2 separate regions of the Homo sapiens genome follow, and region 1 is linked to region 2. The links are contacts of gene promoters, found by promoter capture Hi-C in blood cells and fetal thymus (Javierre and others, 2016). All regions are on one chromosome and are shown on one strand. The core of a region is centred on a gene start or on the middle of the fragment in contact, and the rest is flanking DNA. Distances in the headings are between cores, read along the strand shown.

Region 1 (2,740 bases), core at 81-2,580, 390 kb before region 2:
TGACCAATTGCATATAAGCTGATTCACATTAAATAAACATTTTAAGGCTGGACACAGTGGCTCAGGCTTGTAATCTCAGCACTTTGGGAGGCCGAGGAAGGAGGATCAGCTGAGGTCAGGAGTTCGAGACCAGCCTGGCCAACATGGAGAAACTCCATCTCTACTAAAAATACAAAAATTCGCTGGGTGCGGTGGCAGGCGACTGTAATCCCAGCTACTCGGGAAGCTGAGGCACGAGAATCGCTTGAACCTGGGAGGCAGAGGTCGCAGTGAGCCGAGATCATGCCACTGCACTATAGCGCAGGTGACAGAGCGAGACTCTGTCTCAAAAAAAAAAAAGAAGAAATGTTTTGGTGTTACAACAGACTTTTCTTAACCATCTATGTTATTTAAGAGATGAGGAAACAGACTCCAGAAGGTAACGTAACTTGCCCTTGCTCACACAGTCACTGAAGATGTCAAGATTTGAATACAAATCTCAAGCCCCCTAGCCTCCATTTCCTAACCATTATGCAAACTACCTACTTTGACAGTCACATTCACTGGAAGTGTTTAGATCAGCACAATCCAATAAAAATAGAATGTAAGCCTTGGATATAATTTAAAATTTTCTAAAAACTAGATGTTTTACTTTTTAAAAAGTAAAAGTGAAATTAATTTTAATAAATTATAATTTCAACACATAACCAATATGAAAAATTATTACTGAGATACTTTCCATTGTTTGTACTGAATCTTTTAAATCCAGTGGGTATGTTAAGCTTAACACATCTCTATTTAGACTAACCACATTTCAAGTGCACAGTAGCTACATGTGGCTAGTGGCTGCCTACTGTTTTAGACAGCAGAGGCCTAGATTGTAATTCTATTACTCTACTGAAATGTAAACCTTTTTAGGAAATAGCTTGCTCACAAAATAAGCAGATAGAAAACACCTAATTCTCAACCTGTCATTTTTTTAGTGCTCTCTTTCTAAATCTGGAAACCATGATTTAATGTTTAGATTTGTATTTGGTAACATTTTATTTTTGTTGAGAAAATCTATTGTCACATTTCTAAGCACTAATGTCCTTTATTAGTCATTTCTCAGTAGTAGTTTAGTTATACTCTGTGATTACAAAGCGATTAGTGGATGAATGTATTTTTCTGGATAACTAAAGACCTTGAACTTTACACAAATTTTATTTTGCTTTGATTATTTTTGATGGAAATGCTTTTTTTTTTTTTTTTTTGAGAGAGTCTCACTCCATCACCCCGGTTGGAGTGCAGTGGTGCAATCTCAGCTCACTGCAAACTCCACCTCCCAGGCTCAAGGCCTCAGCCTCCCAAGTAGCTGGAATTACAGGCGTGTGTCACCACACTCAGCTAATTTTTGTATTTTTAGCAGAGATGGGGTTTTGCCATGTTGGCCAGGCTGGTCTTGAACTCCTGCCCATTTTCACCTCCCAAAGTGCTATGATTACAGGGATGAGCCACCATACCGAGCCTCAGAAATGCTTCTGAAATGCTTCTGAAATGTGCTACATAATTCCATCTTACACACAACATACTTTATCCTCCATGATTAAAAGTCATTAAGGATACTATCTTAGTCTTCAGCTGCTGTGTCAAACTATCATAAACCAGATAGCTTAAAAACAACAGAAATATATTTCTTGCGGTTCTGGAGTCTGGGAAATTCAACATCAAGATGTCTGCAGATTTGTTGTCTTGCTATAACTTCACATGGTAGGGGGCAAGATAGCCCTCTGGGGCTTTTTTCTTTTTCCTTTTTTGTAATTTTCCTTTTTTCTGATAGTTTTGATCAGAGGACAGGACTTTTTATAAGGGCACTAATGACCTTATTACTGTCACACGCGTCCGTGTGAAGAGACCACCAAACAGGCTTGGAGAGAGCAATGAAGCTTTTTATTCACCTGGGTGCAGGCGGGCTGAGTCCAAAAAGAGAGCAGAGGGAGTTAGGGGTGGGGTAGTTTTATAGGATTTGGGTAGGTAGTGGGGAAGATTACAGTCAAAGGGGATTGTTCTCTTGCGGGCAGGGGCGGGGGTCACAAGGTGCTCAGTCGGGGAGCTTCTGAGCCAGGAGAAGGAATTCAATTCACAAGGTATTGTCATCAGTTAAAGCAGGAACCGGCCATTTTCACTTCTTTTGTGATTCTTCAGTTACTTCAGGCCATCTGGATGTATACGTTCAGGCTTGGGCTCAGAGGCCTGACATTCCTGTCTTCTTACATTAATAAGAAAAATAAAATAGTGGTAAAGTGTTGGGGCCCTGAAAATTTTTGGGGGTGGTATGGAAAGATAATGGGCGACGTTTCTCAGGGCTGCTTCGAGCAGGATTGGGGCGGCGTGGGAACCTAGAGTGGGAGAGATTAAGCTGAAGGAAGATTCTGTGGTAAGAGGTGATATTGTGGGGTTGTTAGAAGGAGCATTTGTTGTATAGAATGATTGGTGATGGCCTGGATACGGTTTTGTATGAATTGAGAAACTAAACAGAAGACGCAAGGTCCAAATAAGAGAAGGAGAAAAACAGGTATTAAAGGACTTAAGAATTGGGAGGACCCAGGACATCCAACTAGAGAGTGCCCAAGGGGGTTCAGCATAATTACTTGCTTGGTTGGCAAGTTTTTGGGCTCTATCTTTGAGTTTTTTTATGTTGTCATATACCAGGCCAGATTGATTTAGGTAAAAACAACACTCTTCGTTTAATATACAGAGTCCCCTTTTTTTTTAGCAGTGA
Region 2 (2,700 bases), core at 110-2,609:
GTGATCCGCCCCCCATGGCCTCCCAAAGTGCTGGGATTACAGGTGTGAGCCACCATGCCTGGCCTGGAATGGATAATTTCTCTGCTGCATCTCATTAATTTATACAGCAAGTGTTCACTTCTATATGCTGCACACTAGGGATATGATGGTGTGCACACAGCCCTATTGTCCTGAGATTGCAGATCAGTAGGAATGCTTGGAAGTGAATAAGGTACTCTCCACTCATGCCTTTATCTCTGGACTTTACCTGTCAAGATGAGCCCATGTGTGCAAATATTTCCTGAGTTAGAGCCAGCAAGATCTGAAGTTTTGTAGAAAGGGATGGGTGTGCTACCTTGAGGCCCTGAAAGGTCAGTGAAGTCAGGGCAGAACAATAGGTACTGGAGCTGGGATTTGAGACACAGACAATAGTCCTAACATTTACTGAAGATTTAAAAAATACTAGATGTTCTTAGTAATTCACACGTATTAACCTCACTTAATCCTCACAACAACCCTGTGGTACCATTATTATACCTGGTAAGTGAGGAAGCAGGCACAGAGAGGTAAAGTTGCAAAGTTCATACACTGAGAATCAGGGATTTGAGCCCAAAGCAGTGTTTGATTTGTTTTGTTTTGTTTTTGAGACAGAGTCTCACTCTATCACCCAAGCTGGAGTGCAGTGGCTCAGTCTCTGCTCACTGCAACCTCCCCCTCCCAGGTTCAAGTGATTCTCGCGCCTCAGCCTCCGGAGTAGCTGGAATTACAGGCGCCCACCAGCACACCCGGCTGATTTTTGTATTTTTAGTAGAGACAGGGTTTCTCCATGTTGGGCAGGCTGGTCTTGAACTCCTGACCTCAGGTGATCCGCCCGCCTCGGCCTCCCAAAGTGCTGGGATTACAGGAGTGAGCCACCGCGCCTGGCCTGCAGAACTTTTTCTTTTGGCCACCTGAACAAAGATCCTGGGTCAGTAAGGTGTCAGGGGTTTCTGTGAAGAGGTCAGTTTTCTTCCAGATGAGGATGTGTGTGAGGAAGGTGGAAGCCAGTTTTGTGAAAAGCCTTGAGAATCCCCAAAGGACAGTAACATAGGAAGCTAAATGTGGCGGACTTGCAGGATGAACTGATGCACAGTAAGAGCTCCTTGTGGTCGACCCTTCTGACTTCCATCCCGTTTCCCTGTGCTGGAAGACGCACGCCAGGTGGGGTCGCAGGTTGTTTCTGGTGCCGGCTTAACCGGCGCAGCACCGAAACCCGTAGCTGCGTGCGGGAAGGAACCACCGAGCGGAAGCCGCTCCCACCTTCCTAGAGAGGAGACGGTAGTGGTTATTAGCCGAGGCGCGGACTGCTGACGTCACGCCGGCTGGGCGCGTCCGGGACTTACTCCTTTCCGCAGGGCAGCACCCAGGGACCTGAGTGTTGCAAGGTGCGAGAGGGGAGCGCCGCGGGGAGCGCCGCGGGAAGCGCATGGTGAGCGGTTTCTGCTGTGCCCGGCTGCCGCGGGTCGATTCCAGCTCCTCCCTCGGGAAGCAGGGCGTTTTTCTTCCTGGAGGGCCTGTGGAGCGGAGGCCCGAGGCCTAGGGCAAACTTGCCATGAAGAAAGGAGAGGCTGTTCGAGAGCCCTAGGCTGGGAGTCGGAGGACCTGGGTTCGATTTATACATACTTAAGCATGTCAGTGAACTTCTGGGCACTTTAGTTTTCTGATTTCCAGAAGTAAATACTGTTTCCTGCCTTGCCGTTTCCCAAAGTTGTGCGGGTTGAAGTAAGTATATGCAAGAATTAGTGCCTTCCCTTCATTATTTATTCTTCTCTAACAACAACAAAATAGGTACCGTATGAAGACATGTAGACTCAATACTTTAACAGCAGGCACTATTTATTGAATGCTTACCAGCTGGCATTCTTCTAAGTAGTTGCCATGTAGTAACCCACTTATTCATTACGACAACCCTATAAAGTAGTTACTGGTATCGTCTCCATTTAACAGTTGAAAAAACTGGAGCAAAAAAAGGTTAGGTAACTTGTTCAAAAGTCCTAGTCCTGGAGCCCATGCCATACTTGTAAGTTTGCTGGTGGAAGACAGAATGTAATCAGACTAGAAAGTCCTACAGTAGAAACTTGTAAAATTCTTTGAGAATGTAGACGAGGAAGGGCCTTGGAAAAGTCAAAATTTTCCCACAAGGAAGAGGTGTGAAGTTTCACATTTGAGCTAAATATTAAAGGTTGACTGCAAGCTTGAAAATAATTGCTGGCTTATTTGACCAAATGAGGAAATAAAAGAGACGTTTGAAAATAATTAAACAGTTTGTTCAGTGTCAGTTAAGAGATGCTAGTGGATTGGGATGTATTAGACAGGAAACCAGGTTCCTGCCTTTGAATACAGTGTTCTTTGCATTAGGAGGGTTCTTGAAACCTTTCCCTTATGAAGAGTCCTTAACATCTTACAGCAGATACTCCTTACACAAAGGCAATCCTCTTGTTATTTTCGAGAAATTCCCCCAATTCTAATTGTAGGAGGATAACTGACAGGAAGTTTCCCTGCTGTTGATTCAGCCCGTTCTTAACAAGACCCATTCACCTCACGGCTAGCTCATTTAGTACTTTTCAAATAAATGAATAAACAGATTCAATCAAAGATGGACTGGAAGGGCTTGATTTGAGGTTTTTGCTCTTTTCCCATCTGTATATAGAATCAAAGCTTTGTAGAATGTTGATATTACAA

Evidence for each region. The method cuts DNA at HindIII sites, captures the fragments that hold promoters and counts their contacts. A CHiCAGO score of 5 or more calls a contact.
Region 1: a fragment that was not itself captured here is called in contact with the fragment with the promoter of ZNF501 in region 2 in 5 of 17 cell types (naive B cells, total CD8 T cells, naive CD8 T cells and 2 more); the score reaches 7.1 in naive B cells.

The regions. Positions count from the first base shown.
Region 1 is chr3:44,342,810-44,345,549 of GRCh38, forward strand. All of the region lies in intron 1 of TCAIM (T cell activation inhibitor, mitochondrial), which reads left to right. Among named protein-coding and RNA genes, the nearest start is that of TCAIM, 5.4 kb to the left of the region's middle. The HindIII fragment of the contact is 1,143 bases long and covers 760-1,902 here.
Region 2 is chr3:44,728,276-44,730,975 of GRCh38, forward strand. ZNF501 (zinc finger protein 501) reads left to right here and starts at 1,360. Exons shown (of 3, transcript NM_001258280.2): 1 at 1,360-1,740. LOC105377056 (a long non-coding RNA gene) reads right to left here and starts at 1,251. Exons shown (of 3, transcript XR_940788.4): 1 at 517-1,251. RefSeq lists an enhancer at 1,171-1,240. The HindIII fragment of the contact is 3,071 bases long and covers 1-2,210 here.